Regions from separate parts of the Homo sapiens genome. Here all the other regions are linked to region 2. The links are contacts of gene promoters, found by promoter capture Hi-C in blood cells and fetal thymus (Javierre and others, 2016). All regions are on one chromosome and are shown on one strand. The core of a region is centred on a gene start or on the middle of the fragment in contact, and the rest is flanking DNA. Distances in the headings are between cores, read along the strand shown. Region 1 overlaps BTN3A3 (butyrophilin subfamily 3 member A3). Region 2 holds the start of H2BC6-AS1 (H2BC6 antisense RNA 1). Region 3 overlaps LOC285819 (a long non-coding RNA gene).

Region 1 (3,783 bases), core at 694-3,193, 280 kb after region 2:
GAAGTAGAGAGTTCCCCCGATCCTGACCTAGTGCCTGATCATTCCCTGGAGACACCACTGACCCCGGGCTTAGCTAATGAAAGTGGGGAGCCTCAGGCTGAAGTAACATCTCTGCTTCTCCCTGCCCACCCTGGAGCTGAGGTCTCCCCTTCTGCAACAACCAATCAGAACCATAAGCTACAGGCACGCACTGAAGCACTTTACTGATATTCATTCCATTATTCCATATGACAGTTGTTTTGAGTTTCGTACCACCTTATTGTCCCCTTATACAGATAAGGAAACTGGGGTGCAGAAAGGTGAATTAACTTTACAAAGTAGACATGACAAGTGAACAGCAGAGCTGGGATCTAAACAGCAATAACTAACATTAACAGAGAATTTAAAATGTTCTTAGTGCTGTGTTATAAGCTTTGGTGGATGTCACTCCTTTAATCCTCACAACACCCTGTCGGGTAGTCATATTTTGCAAGTATGGAAGCTGAGGCAGGGCAACATGAAGTAACTTACATAACTCATACAGTAATTTGTGCAGTTGGGAGATGTTCAGCCTTAGTCCCTGGCTAATTGCCTGTTCTTTTCCAGCCTGATTTTTTTTCCCACAGGAAGAGCCCACATGTAGCCCTGAGGTTTCCTTCCCAGGACAGCTGCAGGGTAGAGATCATTTTAAGTGCTTGTGGAGTTGACATCCCTATTGACTCTTTCCCAGCTGATATCAGAGACTTAGACCCAGCACTCCTTGGATTAGCTCTGCAGAGTGTCTTGGTTGAGAGAATAACCTCATAGTACCAACATGACATGTGACTTGGAAAGAGACTAGAGGCCACACTTGATAAATCATGGGGCACAGATATGTTCCCACCCAACAAATGTGATAAGTGATTGTGCAGCCAGAGCCAGCCTTCCTTCAATCAAGGTTTCCAGGCAGAGCAAATACCCTAGAGATTCTCTGTGATATAGGAAATTTGGATCAAGGAAGCTAAAAGAATTACAGGGATGTTTTTAATCCCACTATGGACTCAGTCTCCTGGAAATAGGTCTGTCCACTCCTGGTCATTGGTGGATGTTAAACCCATATTCCTTTCAACTGCTGCCTGCTAGGGAAAACTGCTCCTCATTATCATCACTATTATTGCTCACCACTGTATCCCCTCTACTTGGCAAGTGGTTGTCAAGTTCTAGTTGTTCAATAAATGTGTTAATAATGCTTACTCCTCAGCTTGGCTTTTTCTAGACTGTGGTGTCTACTCAGCACAGTAGTCTGCACACCCACTGTACTCACCACAGTCTCAGTTTACCTCACTGCAGCATTTTCACAAGACCCTTATTGGATGCATTTTCTGTTGTTGCCATCTGAATTACCAGAAATGTATAGACATTTTTTTTTTTTTGAGATTGGATTGTGCCACTGTACTCCCAGGCTGGAGTACAGTGGCACGATCTCAGCTCACTGCAACCTCCACCTCCCAGGTTGAAGTGATTCTCCTGCCTCAGCCTTCCGAGTAGCTGGGACTACAGGTGCGTGCCACCACGCCTGGCTAATTTTTTGTGTTTTCAGTGCAGACGAGGTTTCACCATGTTGTCCAGGATGGTCTCGATCTACTGACCTTGTGATCCACCCACCTCGGCCTCCCAAAGTGCTGGGATTACAGGTATGAGCCACCGCGCCTGGCTTCAGAAATTCATGAACTTAAAGCAACACAAATTTATTATCTCACTGTTCTGTAGGTGAGAAGTCAGAAGTCCCACAGGGATCTCACCAGGCTAGAATCAAGGTGTCTGCAGGCTGGATTCCTTTCTGGAGTCTCTAAGGAAGAATCTGTTTCCTTGCTTATTCAGACTATTGGCAGAATCAGTTCCTTTCATTTATAGGACTGACGTCCCAGTTGTTCCCTGGTTTTTAGCTAAGGGCTGTACCCACTTCTAGAGGCTGCCACACTCTGGCTCCTAGCTCCCTTCCTGTATCTTCAAAGCAGCAACAGCGCATTGAGGCTCATCTCCTAGGTCTTTTTCTCCATTGTGTCTCTCTGATTCTTTTACCTTCTCCTTTTTTTCCTTCCTTTCTTTTTTTTTTTTTTTTCTTCTTTGACAAGGACTCGCTCTGTCACCCAGGCTGAAGTGCAGTGGCGTGATCTCAGCTCACCACATTGTCCCCTGGGCTCAAGCAATCCACCCATCTTAGCTTCTCAAGCAGCTGGGAGCACAGAGCCACATCACCATGCCTGGGTATTTTCTTGTAGAGACAGGGTCTTGCCATGTTGCCCAGGCTGGTCTCAAACTCCTGAGCTCAAGCAATCTGCCCACCTTGGTCTCCCAAAGTGCTGGGATTATAGGCATGAGCCACCACGCTCAGTCTGCCTTTTACTTTTAAAGACTCCTATGATTAAACTGAGATCACCCAGACAATTTAGAATAATCTCTCTATTTTAAGGTCCATAACCTTAATTCTGTGTAAAATTCATTTTACTGTGTTATACATTCTTTTCATAACTTTCATAGTGAATATAGCTCAAAGGGTGGGTGCGGGGAGCACTATTCAGCTCACCACACTGATTTGGGAAGTGATTCCAGGAAACACAAGTGCAGAAACAAATTGAGAAATGAAAAAAAGCCAATTACATGACAAATGGGATAAAGGGTTCACTCATGAGTCAGTTACCATGTGGATAACTTGGCTGAATCCCTTTTAGGACTCTCTAAGAAACCATATGAAATGTGTGATATAGCTCAGAATCTTCCTAAGGACTACAGGGCCTGGGACTTTATCTCCACTTCCCATCCTCCTTTGCTTGAATTGGTTGAAGGTTGGCCTGGGAGTGTTAATTCTAATGCACTTTAAGATTGGGCTATGTAACTGCAGAAAAGCAACTATCACGGGTGTGATAAAGCTCACAGGCAAAGGAGAAGGGAGATACTCACTGGAGGTGGAAAGGTTGTCATCCTTGCAGAAAACTGTGCCTCAGCTATTGGCAAACTGTGATAGGCCAAGAGAATATGGGATGGGGCATCAACAGCGTCTGTTATAAGGGCTCTGCCTCTGAGAATATAGTGAATGCCTTTCAAGGTCTCTCTGCCCTCGCTGTACCACATTTAGCATTAGTGACCTCTTCTCTTCCAATACATGCCCACATCACATGGCCCTGCAGCCTCACCACATGGACTGGGTCTGGGATGGACACCTGACCCAGGCTAGGCCAGAGGACCAAGTGACATGTGGCTAGTTACTCCTGTAGCAGATGTGCATGGGAGCTGTGGGAAGAAATGCTCCATTCATGGTGTGGACTAAACAATGGTGGATTGCAGAGAAGACCAAAGCAGATGAGCAGAGAGAAGGCTACAAGATGGAAAGAGTTTAGGCAAATTTCTCACGTTTGGTTCTTTTAGAAGCCCAGTATCATTTCTTCTTTTTGAAAAAATGTGTTCTTTTGAGGCAAGATAAATGTACTCGTTAATATTGCTTGTAGTCCTAATATTCAGAAGCTTATGCAACTATTATAATATGTTCAGTGATTCTGTGAGTCAGGAATCTAGAATTTGAACAGGGCAGAGTAGGAATGGATTTTCTGTATGTCAACATGTCTAGGCCTCCCCTGGGAGTACTCCATAGCTGGAGATGACACAGCTATATTACCTTCACAGACTGTAGTTTATTGTAAAGCAAAAGGAAATCAATGCTTACCCTGTATCCTGGTTCTTCCAGGGTTGGCAGGTCCATAAAGAACCTTGCCAACGTGACCCTTCCTGTCTCTATCCCTCCCACTACAGAGCATGATTGGGTTAGGT
Region 2 (3,745 bases), core at 467-2,966:
ATCTGCCTGAAAATGACTGTGTGGATCCCACCCAAATCCAACTCATCCTGGTTTGCTGCACACTGGTTCATCAAAAGAAGGTTACCGAGGGGAAGGAACTAAAGGTGTTTGCACTTCATGTTACTTTTTGAGTTTATAAACATAAAAACAGAATTTACTTCTGTTACAGACCTAGTTACTGGGAATTCATTACTTGCCATGGACTACCTTTGCTAAGAAAAGTCTGAATGAGAAGATGGCAGGACGTCTGAAAAAAAAAGTTATAATTAATAAAATCTGCGGAGAATTGTAAATTCTGCCTTCATTGTTGATCCAAACCTTTCTTCTAAGACCTCCCCTTTCTAGACATCTATCTACCTATTTTCACTTTACTTTCCAGCATCAAGGAGGTCTGAGTGGATAAGGCCTAAGCACTGATGTGGCTTTGGTAATGAACCTGAAGTTAAAAACTGGTTAGCTTATGCTAAGCTGCCATTTGAAAGGTCTCCTCCAGCATCTGAATTAAGGGAAACAATGTTTTGAAGCAGTCACAAAACTTTTCTGATGCATTAGATCTGAGGTAGGACCTGATAATTTGTACTTCTAAATTATGCAGGTGATGCTGATGCTGCTGGTCCGGAGACCACTTTGGAGAGTTTTACTTTAAAGGAAATGAAACTGCCCTAAAATGCTAATACTAAATAGCCACACAAAGCCGGAAAAAAGCAAAGAATTTCAAACCGAAGATGAGAGGTCCTGAAAAATAACAGCGGTCATCCTACTCCCGGTGCGGCTATGCGGCCATGAAAAGGAGTCTTGGGGCCGGTCGTGCCCCTCCACGCAGGCTCCCTCATAGGGTCATCCCATCAACCCTCGCCAAAAACGCCGGCCCCCTCATAGGGCCGTCCGGCCACGCCCCTCCGTGCCCTAACCACAGAGCCACACGTTACGCCGCCGCCCCGTTACGCCCATCCGGCTCCCGCATAGGGCGTCACGTACGTTTAACGTCGGCCCGGCGCGCGCGTCCGGGAGGTTGCCCGTAGGCCGCTAACTGGTGGTTCCCAGTCCCCGCCGACTCGGCCTCTTTCTTCTGCGGCCACCAGATCGCGGGATATCGGAGACTTCGAACAATCCGCTGGAGTCCTTTACAGTTTAAAAACAGAGGACCGGCCGGGCGCGGTGGCTCACGCCTGTAATCCCAGCACTTTGGGAGGCCGAGGCGGGCGGATCACGAGTTCAGGAGATAGAGACCATCCTGGCTAACACCGTGAGACCCCGTCCCTATCAAAAGTACAAAAAAATTAGCCGGGTGTGGTGGCACGCGCCTGTAGTCCCAGCTACTCAGGAGGCTGAGGCAGAAGAATCGCTAGAACCAGGGAGGCGGAGGTTGCAGTGACCGAGATCGCGCCGCTGCACTCCAGCCTAGGCGACAGAGCGAGACTGCGTCTCAAAACAAAAAAAACGGAGGATCGAAAATTTTGAAGACTGAGAGCAAGGCAACAATCTTCCCTTGACCTTTTTGCTCCTCTCACAAGGGTTTTTCAGACGGCTGAAACCAACGAAAAGAGTGAGGAAGCAGGCAGAAAATTTCAGCTTTAGTCTCTCAGCATCCTCCTGCTTTCTTCTCGGGGAGCTGGCACTTCCCCCTTCTCTAGTAGCTGTAAATACGCCTCCCAACTCCAAGGAGACCTTTCTTGCATCTCCCTTACTGTTCTCACGCCTGTAGGGCTCTTCGTGTGAGGATTCAGTGTATGTATGTATGTATATGAATGTGTGCGAATAATTATTTCCTAATTGAGTTTTTTTTTAAAAAAATCATCTTCCGGTACACGCAGTGCCGTACTCCATTAAACAGCAGGCACGGTGTCTAGGGTCCGCAGTTCTTTTGGAGGCTCATGAAAATATTTTAATTTCTTCTAAAGTCAGAAGGAAAAAAATGAACATTTAAGTCGAAGAAGATGTTACATATTAATCTTCATATGACTTTAATTTTTTTTTTTTTTTTTTTGAAACGGAGTCTCGCTCTGTCCCCCAGGCTGGAGTACAGTGGCGCAGTCTCGGCTCACTGCAAGCTCTGCCTCCCGGGTTCACGCCATTCTCCTGCCTCAGCTTCCCGAGTAGCTGGGACTACAGTCACCACGCCCGACTAAGTTTTTTTGTATTTTTTAGTAGAGACGGGGTTTCACCGTGTTAGCCAGGATGGTCTCGATCTCCTGACCTCGTGATCCGCCCGCCTCGGCCTCCCAAAGTGCTGGGATTACAGGCGTGAGCCACAACGCCTGGCCTATGCCCACTAATTCCAATTCTTATTTGATCTAATTGTTTATAGATTCTTGTGAACTTTTACCTTGACAATTATGTTATTTTCAAAGATAATCATCTTTTCCTATTGAATCCTTGCTCTTCTGACTGCCTGTTCCTATCTCATGGTATTGGCCAAACCCTGTGATGCCGTGTTGAATAGGAGTACTTTCTCACCACACTTGTCTTCCTTCCGCCTCTATGGGAATCCTTCCAAAACGGCACCATTAAGTGTTATACTCGCTGTAGCTCCTCCTTATGAAGTTCTCTTCTCATTGTAGTCTGTTAAGTGTTTATGATTAAAGAGTGTTATATTTTGTTAAATGCTTTCGCAGTATCTTTGGAGATGATCATGTTTTTTCTTTATTAATCTCTTTTTTATTTTATTTATTTTATTTTATTTTATTTTATTTTTTATTATTTTAGTTTTTATTTTGAGATGGAATCTCACTCTGTCTCCCAGGCTGGAGTGCAGTGCCCTGATCTAAGCTCATTACAACCTCTACCTCCCAGGTTCAAGCGATTCTTCTGCCTCACTTTCCCAAGTAACAGGGACTACAGGTGCGTGCCACCACATCTGGCTAAGTTTTGTATTATCAGAAGAAGATAGGCCGCCATTGGCCAGGCTGGCCTTGAACTCCTGACATTAAGTGATCCACCTGCCTCAGCCTCCTAAAGTGCTAGGAATACAGGCGTGAGCCACTGCTCTGGGCCTTCCTTTATTAATTTCTTAAACTGGCAGATTTAGAATACTAAACTTCCTTCTATTCTTAGAATAAACCCTATATAATCAGCTATTTATTTAAATAACATGGTCTCTGCAATTTCTCCTGGTTTCCATTTTTTCTCATAATAGGCATTTTTTTCTAAAAAACAAAAATGAATGTTCATTAGTGAGACAAAACTATAATTTTGTTTTTTTCTTCTTTCTCTCTTCCTTCCTTTTTAAAATTTGTATTCTCCAGTTTTGCTAATAATGTTATACAATTTTACAAGAAAAAAGTGAGTAGGAGAGCTGTTTTTCTATAGTAACAGATTCTGTGAAATAGGTATCATGCCAAGTGAGGTGGCACGTCCCTGTAGTCCCAGCTACTCAGGAGGTGAAGCAGAAGGACCACTTGAGCCCAGGAATTGGAGACTGTAGTGTGCTGCCATCATGCCTGTGTATAGCTTCTGCGCTACAGCCTAGGCAACGTAGCGAGAACCATCTCAGAAAAAAAAAAAAAAAAAAAGAGATAATCTATTCCTCATAAATTCACTAAAACTTGGAATATCTGACCGGACTTGGCAGCATTTGGGTGGAAGGACGTAGAAAATATTTTTTAACTGCCTACCTTATTTTCATAATCATAATTTGTTTAGTCAGCTTGTCTATTTTCTTCTTTTTCTTGAAAATTATTTTCCACTGAGTTTAATTTTTTGTAAAAGTTACACAGCATTCTCTTGTCATTCTTTATATCTCCCT
Region 3 (3,703 bases), core at 583-3,082, 300 kb after region 2:
TTCTCGGACCGAGTGTACAGCACATGCTTTCTTTTCCTTTATTCTGGATCAGAGAATCTTAACTAAAGCAGAAATAATTGTGTTAAATTAAACTAAATTTGGTATGAGATATGTATACATTTAGCCTGAGGGATGGCTCTTGAGCCCTTAAATAATGAACTGCAACCTAACTTAGTATGTAAACTAACTGAAAGCTTAAGGCATGGGAGTATACTTTTGTAACAAATAGCTGAGTCTCAGCCAATCCCAGTAGCCGAACTTCAGTCGGCGGCAGTCAACCCTGCAGCCAAGTGATCAGACTATGTTCAAATAAGGCCAACTCTGAGCTGTAACCAATTAAGCTGTTTCTGTGTGTCACTTCCCTTGTGGAATGGAGCTCACTGAACCTCTCTGATGGCTGCCCGATCGTTCTGATGGTTTGCAAATTGTTCTTTGTTCAAATTAAACCCTGCTAAATTTAATTTGTCTAAAGTTTTTATTAACAACAGAAAACTATTGATTACCTTTTTTTGTGGGCTATGATTTTCAGATAGGAATATTAAGGAGTAAGTGGGGAAAATTGCTTAGAGCCAGGGCTACAAGGCCTGGAAGAAAAGGGACTGAAAAGCTGAGAGGGGAACTGGCACAGAGAAAGGGGTGAGGATGGAGAGGGTAGAATGCAAAGAGTAAGGACCTGAAGAGGCTGAGATTTGGCTGAAGAGGGACAACCTGAATAGAGAAACCTTCCAACTGCATGTTCTTAGGAACTAATTACAGTCAGAAAGGAGCAAAGACTCCTTTTTTTTTTTTTTGTCAGAGTCTCACTGTTGCCCAGGCTGGAGTGCAGTGACACAATCTCGGCTCACTGCAGCATCCACCTTCCCAGCCAAGCAATTCTCTGGCCTCAGCCTCCGGAGTAGCTGGGAATACAGGCATACGCCACCACACCTGGCAAATTTTTTGTATTTTTAATAGAGACGGGGTTTCACCATGTTGGCCAGGCTGGCCGGCCAGGCTGGTACTGAACTCCTGACCTCAAGTGATCCACCCACCTTGGCCTCCCAAAGTGCTGTGATTACAGGCATGAGCCACTGCCCCCAGCCAGGAGACGAAAAGACTCCTAAAATATCTCCTGGTTATGTTTAGGAACATATTCCAAAAGGTTCTAAAAAGAGATGTGCCTTAAAGATTCATATGTATATTGTAAATTTTCAACTCCATATTTTCTAGATGTCCCCAACATCCCCACAACAGCCCGTCAACACCCTGCCCAGGTGACCAAGTACACCAGTGCAACAGGGCTGGTTCCTGCCTGCTTGCCCTTGCTTAACTGTGACCTAGTGACCTCCTCCCATCTTTTGATCTTTATTCCTCTAGTTCACTTCCTTTGTCACTATCTCTCCACCCACACCTACTTGCCTTAATCACCTTAACAGCAAAGGCTGAATTATTGTAAACAAAAGGAGTCTGTCTTTTTAGTGCATGGGTCCCCAAGTATGTATATATGAATATGCAATGAACCCCAGGATACTAAGCTTCACTTAAGGATTTTTTCCTACAAGGACTCAGCTGTCACATTTGGGGGCATTTTGTTTTGTTTTGTGAATGTTTAACCAAGCTAATGGAGGAACTATTGGTACAATGAACTCAAAAAATGTACAGGATCAGCAGGGCATAGTGGCTCACGCCTGTAATTTCAGCACTTTGAGAGGCTGAGTTGGGAGGATCACTTGAGCCCAAAAGTTCAAGATCAGACTGGGAAACATAGTGAGACTTCATCTCTAAAAAATTAAAATAAAATAAAATAAATACAAGGAAAAAAGAAAAATGTACTGGATTGAGGGGAAAAATTTATGATGCAAACAGAAGAGCATTTATGATTGAAGTGAGAGAAGGATAATGGGGGAGGATGGTGAAAGAACATCAATCTAAATTTATATTTAAATTTACATGAATCCAGTGCAGGCAGCATCTCAGGGGAGGGAGGAGTCTATTTTTCTGTTGATTTCCTGGGCTAAATTCCTGACTGACTCATTGCTGAAAGTAAATAACATATTATTATAGTTGAAAGATTTTTTTTTAGTGTAGTGATTTCAAACTGTGCTCATTTATATGCAACCCATGAACGCCTCCCTTCTCCTATGTCTCCTTTTGAGTTGTAGGGCCAGTTTGAAGCTTTATATATCATTTACCAAACTTAGGGTGGTGAGTGGGTGCTGATGGCAGCCTGGTTTGAAAATCTCCACTGGAGAGAAGACACAGCAGGATTCAGATGCAAATGACCAGAGCACTCCAAGTTGGAAAGAACTGCTGAGCGGGTCTGTAGAGCCCATCGCTCTCTCCTGTCTATTCATCAGCTAGGCTGAAGCTCCTGACAGACTCACACCAGTATCTTGCTGCTCCAGAAAGGTCGAAGATGGCAGTTTTCCCAAACTCCGGCTTGCCCAGATGTCTGCTCACCCTCATTCTTCTCCAGCTGCCCAAGCTGGTTTCAGATAGGTCTCTCTCTCTGGCCTGCAGAGTTAAAACATCTCAATAAATATAAAGTATAAAAAGAAGCTGGAGCCCAACCACTTCGGCACATGTTCACAGGATCTCGGGGCTGTGTCACAAGCCACTGGGCACTCATATCTGGCTGAGAATAAATCTCTTGCAATATTTTACAGAGTTTGACTCTTTTTGTTTGACAAAATAAATTCAACTCATAACTGCTGAGTTTGGGCTCTGGGCTGTGGAGTTGTCTGGAAATGGGTGCTGGGCTCCCACTGCTGCCTTTCACTCAAGGCCCCCAGATATAGCAACCATCTCTTAGTATGTAAAGATCTGATCTCAAATCATCAGGAGCTTCCAGGTTATTTCATTTTCCTTTTTTTCTCTTCTTTTCACCGATGTTTGACGTCCAGGTTATTTCTAAGGTGACAGAAAGAAGCAGAACACTTTCTTGTGCCTGATTGATCAGTTGATGTTTTGTAGGCGATAGGATTCAGATAGTAACAGTCCTCCAGTGCGTCCTTCCCACTCTCATTTTCTTCCTCCTCCTCCTCACATCTCAGCCCCAGAGGCCTATTGAAGAATTTCTATTCATTTTACAAAGAAGCTCCTGAAATTTTTATGTTAGTTTTGTCTTTTTATTTTCCTCCTTCTTCTTCTTCCTCTTTTTCTTCTTCCTCTTCTTCTTCTTCACACCACTATACAAAGGAGGAAGTTTAGTTTTGTCTTTTACTTTAAATTACACAAGATTTTTTTTTCTTTCTCTCTCTGTCTCTTTATTATTTTAAATTGTTTGTAGAGATGGAGTCTCGCTCGAACTCCTTAGTTGGCTCAAGTGATCTTCCTGCATTGGCCTCCCAAAGTGCTGGGATTACAGGTGTGAGCCACCGTACCCAGCTGATTTTCTCTTTAACCTGGCAATGACTCTTGTTTCTGTTTTATTATAGAATGGAAACTGGCTCGATCTTGTGCAGGTTAGTGGCTGGGCACTGCTCTGGGTGCTGAGATTTAACCTCTGAGGTATCCAAAGACCTAAAATAAGTGGAAATGAAAAATGCTGATACCCTTTTAGTGATGAACACAGAGATTTTAAGTTGTGGGGAAAAAAAAAAGAAAGAAAGCCTAATACTTCCTTGGAACACAGAGAGGGGCTTTGGAAGATGGCCAAGAGTCCAGCTTCCTGTGAGATTATCTCACGAGGCATTACAAGCCTGGGCACAGTCAACTCTTAACA

What was found. Contacts are between HindIII fragments. The CHiCAGO score rates a contact against its expected background, and 5 or more counts as called.
Region 1: a fragment that was not itself captured here is called in contact with the fragment with the promoter of H2BC6-AS1 in region 2 in 1 of 17 cell types (non-activated CD4 T cells); the score reaches 5.0 in non-activated CD4 T cells.
Region 3: a contact is called between a fragment that was not itself captured here and the fragment with the promoter of H2BC6-AS1 in region 2, in 3 of 17 cell types (naive CD4 T cells, non-activated CD4 T cells and naive CD8 T cells). The highest score is 8.2, in naive CD4 T cells.

Annotation. Positions count from the first base shown.
Region 1 is chr6:26,452,205-26,455,987 of GRCh38, forward strand. It overlaps BTN3A3 (butyrophilin subfamily 3 member A3), which reads left to right. Exons shown (of 11, transcript NM_006994.5): 11 at 1-1,211. The coding sequence ends at 207. Among named protein-coding and RNA genes, the nearest start is that of BTN2A1, 3.9 kb to the right of the region's middle. The HindIII fragment of the contact is 3,069 bases long and covers 410-3,478 here.
Region 2 is chr6:26,171,057-26,174,801 of GRCh38, forward strand. H2BC6-AS1 (H2BC6 antisense RNA 1) reads right to left here and starts at 1,717. Exons shown (of 3, transcript NR_186648.1): 1 at 979-1,717. It also overlaps a transcript of H2BC5 not described here. RefSeq lists an enhancer at 791-1,683. The HindIII fragment of the contact is 22,011 bases long and covers 1-3,745 here.
Region 3 is chr6:26,473,981-26,477,683 of GRCh38, forward strand. LOC285819 (a long non-coding RNA gene) reads right to left here. Exons shown (of 4, transcript NR_038992.1): 3 at 2,172-3,501. It also overlaps a transcript of BTN2A1 not described here. Among named protein-coding and RNA genes, the nearest start is that of BTN2A1, 18 kb to the left of the region's middle. RefSeq lists an enhancer at 2,961-3,703. The HindIII fragment of the contact is 640 bases long and covers 1,513-2,152 here.